Regions from separate parts of the Homo sapiens genome. Here regions 2, 3 and 4 are each linked to region 1. Evidence: promoter capture Hi-C in 16 types of primary human blood cells and fetal thymus (Javierre and others, 2016). All regions are on one chromosome and are shown on one strand. The core of a region is centred on a gene start or on the middle of the fragment in contact, and the rest is flanking DNA. Distances in the headings are between cores, read along the strand shown.

Region 1 (2,568 bases), core at 38-2,537:
TCTGAAATCTGCTGGATTTCTGGCCTAAGGGAGAGGCTCCCATCCTTCGTTCCCCAGCCAGCCTAGGACTTCGAATGTGGAGCCTGAAGATCTAAGATCCTAACATGTACATTTTATGTAAATATGTGCATATTTGTACATAAAATGATATTCTGTTTTTAAATAAACAGACAAAACTTGTTCTGTCTGGCTCCTGTCTTGCCCCTTGAACTGTGTAAGCTCTGAGTCACATACTCTCTGTCTCGGTACCATCCTTCCTGTAGTCCCAAGTAGGGGAAGACTTAGGATGCCTGTAGCTGGGAGGGAAGGGAAAGAATTGGCCTCCACAAGGCCTTTGGCCATCTCTGAGAGTCCCCTGGTAGGAAAGTGAAGCTAAGAACCCTTTCGAGGATGGCCAGTACCTTAGTTTGCAAAGTGTTTTAAATTCCTTTTTTTTTTTTTTTTGAGATGAAGTCTCACTTTGTCACCCAGGCTGGAGTGCAGTGGCACTATCTCAGCTCACTGCAACCTCCGACTCCCAGGTTCAAGCGATTCTCTCACCTCAGCCTCCCGTATAGCTGGGATTACAGGCACCCGTCACCATGCTCAGTTAGTTTTTGTATTTTTAGTAGAGACAGGGTTTCACCATGTTGGCCAAGCTGGTCTCGAACTCCTGACCTCAGGTGATTCACCCGCCTCAGCCTCCCAAAGTGCTGGGATTACAGGCGTGAGCCACTGCGCCCAGCCTGAATTCCTTATTGTACTGGAGACTCAACAACAGCTATGTGAAATAGGCAGCAGTGTACCCTTTTTTACAGGTAAAGAAACTGAAACTCAAGTTAAATGAGTTTTACAGACTCTTAGAGGTGGGAGGATTTAAAGGTCCTCTAGTCTGCTCCCTTCATTTTCCTAGGTTTGGAAACTGAGGCTCAGTGAAGTAATGCGATTTGACTGAGGTGCTAGATCCATCAGAGGCAGAACCCAGGCATCCTCCCTTGTGAGTGTGCTTTTTACAGCCCTGTGTCAACTTGCTCCCAGGCAAGCCCCAGGTCTCTACCTTGGACCCAAGAATTCTGGTCTCTAAGGGAGTTGGTCACCTGCTCACACCACAGACGCCATCACCCCACCCCAGGGCTCTGACATCACCTCCCCTGACCAATGAATGAAGTCCAAGCAAAGGGTGAGGATGTGAATGTCAGCTACCTCCCCCACCCTAGGCCCTGTGGTTGCAAAGATGCTCTAACAGGAAGTGGGTTAAGGAGCTGCACTGCTTCCTGCCCCCTAAAGCTGAGCGGGGCGAGGAGGGCGAGTGCCAGGCTGGGCCACGAGACACAGGACACAATTTCTTGCCAGGGTCCTGGTAGCTTCCTCTTCAACAGCCACTTCCGTGTGGCCGGGGCCCCAGGGGCAGGAGCTGCTGCCCGTTGCCCAGGCCACCCTCCACCCCCAATTGGGAGCCCTGCCCCCCTGGGGCCGGGCCAAGCCCAGCAGCTGGCTGGGATCCCATGGGGGACTGGTAGGGCACAGGTCTTGGGGGATAGAGGTGACCGGGCCAGTGCCCTGGGGCTCTGGCCATGAAGTCTCGGCAGAAAGGAAAGAAGAAGGGCAGCGCAAAGGAGCGGGTTTTTGGGTGCGACTTGCAGGAGCACCTGCAGCACTCAGGCCAGGAGGGTAAGGAGGCCGGCTCAGCTTCTGCAGGGTGGGTGGGGAGGCACTGGGCATCTGCAGCCCGATCCAGCCTGAAGGGCAGAAGCAGTTTCCGGTGCTCCTGGGGAAGGGGCAGTGGCCTGGGGTCACCATTCAAGAGAACTGTAAGTGGGCAAGACAGGAAATGTGGCTCAGTGAAGAAGGCAGGGCGGCTCCCTTGTGTAACTTTCTGGGGATGGGGTGGCTGAGGGGATGAGAATGTGAGTACCCAGGTAGCAGTGAGGGGGAGGATGGAGAGACTGGAAACCGAGGAGGAGTGGATGAAACAGCGGGCAGGTGACTGGGAACAGGAGAGGGAGGGTGAGGCGACAGGGTCAGGAGAGGAGTGGCTGAAGGGGAAATGATTATCCTTAGGTCTGAATGAAAGGAGACAGGGAAATGGCCCCAGAAGGGTCTCAAGATGGCCCTTGAGGCGGGTGGTTTCCTGGCTGGAGAACACCCAAGGACAAGGTCATGGGCTCTGTTCCCACTGCAGCCTTGCTGGGCCGCAGGGGATGATGTCGGGCTGGAAACAACCTCTGCCCCTAGTCTTTGTGATTCTCTTGTTGTCCCTGTGCAAAAGAGAAACAGGTTCAAAGTGGGGGGCAAGGGGAGAAGCTGCTGAAATGGGGAAGAATGAAAGAGAGGGTGTGAGGCCTGGCTTGAAGCTGGAGGTGGAGGGTGCAAAGGAGGGTGGGTGTGGAGCTGTCTGTGGAGCTCACCCAGCTCCCTCCCTGGGTTACCTTAGAGTGGGCTTTGAAGCCAGAAGGACCAGGGACAATATCAGGTTCACAACGGGGCCTGGCATGGAGCAGCCACTCAAAATCATTTCTTGATTCAATTTGAAATTGAACCCAGGCACCCTGGCTGCCCAGCCCAGCTTGTTTTTGGCACTTCAAGCTC
Region 2 (2,568 bases), core at 30-2,529, 390 kb after region 1:
GGCTGACAAGTCCTTAGTAAGCGGGAGCTAAATGAGACGCAGTCTCTTAGAGTTTTGGGGACCCTTAATAAACTTGGATCAATATCTCCAGCACTCTGGGAAATACCAGAGTCAGATACCCTCCACAATCCTGAAGTCAGATCCCTGAGCCCTAGCGTACACATTCTTCTAGAATAACTCAGACCTGAGGTGCTCACATTCACCTGTGACCCCTGTCATGCCCAGTCATCAGGGATTCTGGCCTCTGAGAACGTTGCTGTTTTGTGGTCTTCCTGGGCTCTGTCTACCCTCCTTAACTGCACTGATTTCTTTATCTCTACTCCCACATGTGGACTACGGAGACTGTGTATGCTCTTCCTTATTCTTCCTAACTAATTGGCCCTGTCTCTACCAGCCTCTCCTGATATGCCTTGCTCTTCTGCCACCACAGACCCACTGTGACAGTGTGGTATCTGACCATGAGAACACAATTTGGCTGGTGGTTCCAACACCACCCTCATATCAATATCACATCCTGAGATCCAGAAAAAGGAAGACGCACATTCCCTGTCCTCTATAAAATGGGTGTGACTGTTCATCCGAAGAGAGGATAAAAGCAATAATAAATCCATTTTTTTTGGAAGGGTAAACCCATCTGTCACTTTTTAGTCACCGAAATTATCCTAGAAAGCCCCCTCAAACTCCTTTCCCTACTGTATCACTCATTCCTTTTTTTTATTTTCTCCAGCTCAGCCCTTCCCCACCCCAGCATCTAAGCTTTCCTTCCATCCTTTTTCTTTTCCTTTCCTTTTCTGTCTTCCTTTCTCTTCCCTTCTTCTTCCTAGTTGGTGCAGATACTTAGTGGGGTAGAGAAACAAGGAAAGGAAGTGGTCCTTTTCTCTCTAAAGTCAGCTGTGCATTGTATCATGTGGTCATCTGTCTGTACCTGAAGATCTACCCTACCTCGTTGATGTCCAGAGTAGGGGAGCAATGCTTTCCCAGGCCACAGATATGTCGAGGTAACCTTTGAGCACAGGGCCCAGGTAAGCCAGTGATATTTAAGGAATTTCTGCATTTTTTATACTTTATGTTTGGGGAGATTGAGGAAAAGAATGTCCCAGCCAAATAGGATGGGATTCAGGGAAGAAATTAATTTCCCTGCTCTGTGAGCTCCCACACCAGTGTCCAGTACACTTGCCCCTTCTCAATACATTAGTCAAGATAAAGATACCTAAGCATATAGGGTTTTCTTGCTCTTTCAGCCCGGTCCTTTGGAGTAGAATGGATTGCAAGTTGGCTAGTGGTCACGGTGCCCACCATTCTTGGCCTGTTACTTACCTGAGATGAGCTCTTTTAACTCAAGCGAAACTTCAAGGCCAGAAGATCTTGCCTGTTGGTGATCATGCTCCTCACCAGGACAGAGACTGTATAGGCTGACCAGAAGCATGCTGCTGAATTATCAACGAGGATTTTCAAGTTAACTTTTAAATACTGGTTATTATTTAATTTTATATCCCTTTGTTGTTTTCTAGTACACAGAGATATAGAGATACACATGCTTTTTTCCCACCCAAAATTGTGACAACATTATGTGAATGTTTTATTATTTTTTAAAATAAACATTTGATATAATTGTCAATTAACTGAATTCCTGAAGTTGTCCCAAATCTGTCAGACAGTGCCTGCTCCATCAGCTGGGAGAAACTGGAATCTGGAGACACAGAGGGGAGAGCCTGGAGCCACCGGCTCCTGTGTGTCAACACAGCTGAGGAGCCAATTTGTGCTACTTCTGACCCTTATTCCAACATCCATGCTAAGCTTCCTGGGGCTCCAGCTCCCCTGCCAAGCCTTTGCCTCCTTCCCAGTGGCTTGCCTTGCTCTGACCCCTCTGAGGACCACTCTCCTTAAGTCTGCTGCAAACATAGGTTCAGGCTTGCTCTCGCAGAAGGAAGGATGCAGCTCTATCTCATAAGAAGCCTTCCTGCCCCACAAGCCTCGCATAGGGAGCTGAATTCTCTCTCCTCTTTTCCATTGACTGTGTGGGCAAGTCTTCAACTCCTAGTCGTTTCACTGGATCCAAAAAAACCATCAGATCGACACAGTGTTCTCACCAGAGTTGTCCACTATATGCAGGTAGGCGCCCCCAGGCCCACCACTGACATAACACCTGGGATTTTTGCTTAATGTCCCCTCCTCTAAGTCTCCTCATGTGCCTGGAGCTGAAAGGGTCACTACAGAATGCACTTCCCCTTCAGAAAACTGCCCACCACAGACTGCTTGCCTTTCAAACCAGACCAGCCTCCCCCATCTCCCTCGTGGCCCTTCCCTCCTCACCCCATCTCCTCGGTGACAGATACAGTGCTATGTGTTTGCCAAACCTTCTCATTTTCCCCTGGGTGAGTGAAAAAACTCTTTTTCCCAGCTACTTTTGTGTTTAGCTGGAGCCATGTGATGAAATCTGTCCAATAGAAAGTGGGCGGCATGGATGTGGCAGGAGTGAAGGACTTCGGAAGTCTGGCTATATGATGCAAGGAACTGCATCGGAGCCATTGTTTGGAAGGCAGCTGCCTGCCCTACATTGCACAAGCA
Region 3 (2,568 bases), core at 30-2,529, 310 kb before region 1:
CTGGGTGTGGTGGCACATGCCTGTAATCCCAGCTACTAGGGAGGCTGAGGCAGGAGAATCGCTTGAACCTGGGAGGCGGAGGTTGCGGTGAGCCGAGTACTCCAGCCTGGGTAACAAGGCTGCACTCCAGCCTGGGTAACAAGAGCAAAACTCCGTCTCAAAAAAAAGAAAAGAAATTAAACATCTGAGCATTCCCGTAGGAAATAAATTTATTCAATTTGTTTAACCAATCAAATTAGATGAAGGCTAGAGATTTCAGATTTCAGGGTCTGGACTTTTGGGAACAGGCTGGTGTGGGGGTTTGCCAGACTACCTGAGTTTGGTAACTGGTTCTACAACTTACTGTGTGTTCTTGGAGAAGTTACTTAACTTTCCTAAGCTTCAATTTTTTCATATGCAAAATGTGCTATTATTATTCTAGTTTTACATTTGGTTGTTGCAAAAATAAGTTAAACCTTTTTGGTTACATTTTAATTTAATCACTACTATAATGATGATGCGACTACCAACACTGATCTAGATAGACTGTAGTCCAGCTTCTTTTTTTAGTTTTTTAATTTGATCTAGACTTTTTAGGAAATTACTCTGTGCAAGATTTCTGACAAAAGACAAGGGAGAGGGTAAAATTTAGAGTAGTTTGGGAGGTCGAGGCGGGCAGATCACTTGAGGTCAGGAGTTCAAGACCAGCCTGGCCAACATGGTGAAACCCCATCTCTACTAAAATACAAAAATTAGCTGGGCATGGTGGTGCACACCTGTAATCTCAGCTACTCGGGAGGTTGAGGCATGAGAATTGCTTGAACCCAGGAGGCAGAGGTTGCAGTGACCTGAGATCATGGCACTGCACTCCAGCCTGGGCAACAGAGCAAAACTCTGTCTCAAAAAAAAAAAAAAAAAGAGAGACACAAGATCTCATCCTGGCATCAGTCACTGGTATCTCCTTTCATTACTCCTTGGCAGTCCTCAGTAAGTGTCATATTGCTTTTTTTCCCAATTTTTTTTATTGTGGTAACATTATATAACATAAAATTTATCATCCTAACCATTTGTGAGTGTACAGCTCAGTGGTATTAAATACATTCATATTGTTTTGCAACCATCACCGTTATCCATTTCCAGAACTCTTTTCATTTTGCAAAACTGTAATTCTGTACTCATTAAGCAATAACTCCCGATCACCCCTCCCCTCAGCTCCTGGCAGCCACTCTTCTAATTTCTGTTCTATGATTTGGCTACTCAAAGTACCTGATATCAGTGGAATCATACAGCATTTGTCCTTTCATGACTAGCTTATTTCACTGAGCATAATGTCCTCAAGTTTCATCCATGTTCTGGCATGTGTCAGAATTTCCTGCCTTTTCAAGTCTAAATAACATTCCATTATTTTTCACATTACCTTTTGTTACTTTAGGAATCATGGTCTGGGGGCTGGCCTTTAGCAACCAATATGTTTGGGGAGAGAGATATCTTCCTCAATGGCCTATCTTCTTTGTTGATGGATTCCTAGAGAATTATGCTACATTTTGCATCCAGGAAGGGTCACCACACCTAATTAGCCCACTTTTTTCCTCCAGAATTTTAATGTGTCTGAAAATTCACCTCTTAAAGGAGGAAGTGAAGGCAAGAGAAAGAAAGATGTGGGAATTGGCAGAAATAATAATTCTTCAAATGAGTCCCTTCCTAGACAGCATTCTCAAGCTAGGTATGCAAAAGAGCAGGACCACAGAGCTGCATTAAGGAATTAGATTTTATAGGATCAGAAAACAATCTTAGGAAACTGGGCCATTTTTAGTCTTCATTTCTTTTTGTGTTCTTATCAAAAATTGTAAAGGGGGTGGAAGATACATGCTGAGGTGGCAACCAACAAACATTCTCTTCAGAGGGTAAGACCACAGTGCTACAGAGAATGGAGAAAAATGTCATATACTTCCACAAACCAGAGTCAATGTTAGGAAAGATTTCACTCTAACGGCTTCCCTGCTAAGGGAGTTCTTCCATGAGTAGCTTTCACTGTGCAAGATCAGATGAGACCTAGGGTAGCCCAGGACACAAGGATCCTCCCATAATCCCCCAAGGGGCCACTTTCAATGTGGGCTAGTCTCTGCCCGTCCCTGCCAGGAACTGAAGAGGCTGTGCCAGTACCTTTTCCCCTGATCAGTCTCTGGGAAGGCAAAGCTTTTCTGCATCTGCCCTCAGTGGTTAGTGAGACTGTGGGATCGTCCTGAAGGACAGGAGGTCCTGGAGTTCACCCTCATGACATCATATCTGGCTTAGGACCATCACTCTTCATGTCCTGCTCATCGCTGTTCCTCACCATAGTTTCTCCCTAATGCAATGCCTTGTGGGGAGCTATTTCCCTGAGTACACAGTGATATCAGGATGTGAATCACCTTTTTCTGGGCAGAGGTGGTGGAATTTTTTACCATCATGAAGCTGAGGTTCCTTGCCCATTCTGAGTTGAATAACCCAAATCTTGGCTCTTAGAGCTTCTCATATCCCTAATTCCTTATAAAACTTAACTCTGTCCCCAGCTCTTTACTATCCCATTGCTCAGTATCTTCTACCACG
Region 4 (2,568 bases), core at 50-2,549, 300 kb after region 1:
GACTGCTCCAAAGCAGTGTTTCAGCCTACAGCTTATACATAAGGTGACAGTCATTCTGCCTGTGCTCAAAAGTTATGTAAGAGCAAAATTTCACCAAAGTTTGGGTGCAAGGGTACATCTAGTTATAGATTACAGAGGCATAATGATTAATCCTGTCAACCATTATCTTATGTACAGCAAAAAGACAAAGGCCAGGATCATTGAATTTATCTTTTCTAAAAATGCAGTGATTTAGGTAAGAGATGTGGTAACCTGGGCTCCATCCTTCTTATCATCTTCAGGGCATCCTTCCGAAGGGCTGTCCTCAGTCACTGAGTCAGGGGCTTTGTGAAATTCTGCTGGCAGCTGAATGAGCAAACATGGCCTCTTATGTTTGCTACTTTGTCTTACAGAGTAAGTGAATGTAAAACAAAAACAAAAACAGAATGAATGAATGAAAGTCTCTGTGAGAGAAGCAACCTATCCATTGCTGTTTGCCTTTCCCACAGTTCTGGGTTTGGCTAGGGAGAGTTCACATCCCTGCTGATGTTTATTTTAAATTTCGAAGCAATAAGGAAATTGAAAAATGGACACAAAATTCAGGGGTATCTATTTCCTTTCTATTCATACAGCCTTATATTTTGCCTTCTAAGCTATTCTTTTCCTTGTATTCTTTTTAGACTCTCATTCAGATTATGTTACCTCAATATTCTTCCCTTAGAAGACTTTAAGAAGCAGATTCCATTCAACAGTTTTACTCTACAGAAATACTGTGTGTAAGGCCGGGTGCGGTGGCTCATGCCTGTAATCCCAGCACTTTGGGAGGCTGAGGCAGGTGGATCCCCTGAGGTCAGAAGTTTGAGACCAGCTGGCCAACATGGTGAAATCCCATTTCTACTAAAAATACAAAATTTAGCTGGGTGTAGTGGTGCACACCTGTAATCCCAGCTCCTCAGCTACTCAGGAGGCTAAGGGAGGAGAATTGCTTGAACCTAGGAGATGAAGGTTGCAGTGAGCCAAGATTGCACCACTGCACTCCTGCCTGGGCAACAGAGTGAGACTCCATCTCAAAAAAAAAAAAAAAAGAAGAAGAAGAAGAAGAGGAAATACTGTGTGTTTTCCTCAGTGTTCATGAAGCTTAATGTGCAGGTATTTTCATAAGGTTCTATATTTTATTGAAAAACAGACAACAAAACAAGAAACAGACTAGTAAAATTGCTGAATATGTGCATGGTTTGCCAGCTGGGCCAAGAGGAGGCAGCAGTGAGCTAACCCAGGGCTTGCTGTGTGGCTTGGAGGATCCTGTCACCATCAGCCTGCATTGTGACCTTGCTTTCATTTTCTCTCTCTGAGATGAGGGAGTTAGACTACATGATCCTTAGAGTCTCTTCCAGCTCCAAAATTCTCTGTGTAAGTTTTAAATAGATGTTTGGGACTGATTTAGGTCTGGGAAGAGAAAAGTGAAGGAAACAGACAAAAATTCCCTCCGTTTATGAAGCTTACATTCCCATGGGGCCTTCCAGACCCTACGGTTGTCATAGTGGCGAGGAGGCTGCCTGGATTGGAGGGTATGAGGCTGGGTAGGAAGTCAGACCAGGGCTTGACCAGTAGGCATCAGACAGATCCAGGGACCAGGCAAAGCAGGAAATGAATGAAATTCACTGGGTCCAAGTGAGATGGGAGCAGGGAACAGGCTCTCCACAGAGCCAAGCAATCAGAGGGATTGTGCTAGGTCCCTAACTGACCAGGAGGAGACAGGCAGAGTTGTACCCACAGGACAGTTGGGCCTGCAGAACCTCCAGAACCAGAAAGTCCGTTTAGCAGCCTGACTCAGCAAGGCTTGCTTCTGCTCCTGGGGAGATGCACAGGTCCCAGCATGCAAGTGACTGGGAGGGAACATGGAGAACACAGCAAAGAGGAGGAGCTAGAAAGAGCACCGGAGGAGTGAGGGGAGGAACAGCTCAGAGCCTTATAGCTGACAAGCCTTCTGTAAGGGTGGCGTGAATGAGTGAATGACACAGAGGGGAGTGTTTGCTACTTTGCTTGATCTGTGAGCACTGGTCAGCTGCCTCTTATTATATGCCTCAACTTTATAATGATATGATTAACTGCTATTCTCAGGTCTTCAGTTACTCTTTATACTTAAAGTTCTAGAGGCTCAGTTCTGAATGGAATCTATATAATTAGCCAGTAGTCTCTTTATGATGAGGTAACTTCTGTCGAAGGACTGTGATGTTATACTCTGCTGAACACTTTACGTGTATGATTATCTTTACCTTTAATCTCACTACAATCCTATGAGGTAGAAAGTATCTTTCACATTTTATAGAAGAGAAAACTGAGGTTCCAAGAAACTAAGCATTTTGCTCATGGTCATAGGACTAAGAGAAGATACATGACGTCCAGAGTTGCTTTTCTCTTTCTCTCTCTCTTTCTCTATCTCTTTCTCTCTCTCTCTCTCTCTCTCTCTCTCTCTCTCCCCCCTCCCCTCTCTGTATCTCTTCCTCTCTCCTCTCCAAGTTTTCAGTGTGGTGAAAGTAATGCAGATTAGTGACTAACCACTGTGGGTAGCATGGGTTTTTTCTTCTT

What was found. Contacts are between HindIII fragments. The CHiCAGO score rates a contact against its expected background, and 5 or more counts as called.
Region 2: a contact is called between a fragment that was not itself captured here and the fragment with the promoter of ARHGAP30 in region 1, in 2 of 17 cell types (neutrophils and fetal thymus). The highest score is 5.9, in neutrophils.
Region 3: a fragment that was not itself captured here is called in contact with the fragment with the promoter of ARHGAP30 in region 1 in 3 of 17 cell types (monocytes, naive B cells and M0 macrophages); the score reaches 6.1 in monocytes.
Region 4: a contact is called between a fragment that was not itself captured here and the fragment with the promoter of ARHGAP30 in region 1, in 1 of 17 cell types (erythroblasts). The highest score is 5.5, in erythroblasts.

What each region holds. Positions count from the first base shown.
Region 1 is chr1:161,068,610-161,071,177 of GRCh38, reverse strand. It overlaps ARHGAP30 (Rho GTPase activating protein 30), which reads left to right and starts at 1,287. Exons shown (of 12, transcript NM_001025598.2): 1 at 1,287-1,650. The coding sequence starts at 1,554. It overlaps NECTIN4 (nectin cell adhesion molecule 4), which reads left to right. Exons shown (of 9, transcript NM_030916.3): 9 at 1-180. RefSeq lists a silencer at 1,402-1,551 and an enhancer at 1,448-1,994. The HindIII fragment of the contact is 15,879 bases long and covers 1-2,568 here.
Region 2 is chr1:160,677,805-160,680,372 of GRCh38, reverse strand. CD48 (CD48 molecule) reads left to right here. Exons shown (of 4, transcript NM_001778.4): 4 at 1,242-1,627. The coding sequence ends at 1,321. Among named protein-coding and RNA genes, the nearest start is that of SLAMF1, 32 kb to the right of the region's middle. The HindIII fragment of the contact is 1,041 bases long and covers 759-1,799 here.
Region 3 is chr1:161,382,443-161,385,010 of GRCh38, reverse strand. No RefSeq gene overlaps it. Among named protein-coding and RNA genes, the nearest start is that of CFAP126, 16 kb to the right of the region's middle. The HindIII fragment of the contact is 1,796 bases long and covers 382-2,177 here.
Region 4 is chr1:160,767,180-160,769,747 of GRCh38, reverse strand. No RefSeq gene overlaps it. Among named protein-coding and RNA genes, the nearest start is that of LY9, 28 kb to the left of the region's middle. RefSeq lists enhancers at 1,276-1,725, 1,756-1,805. The HindIII fragment of the contact is 361 bases long and covers 1,119-1,479 here.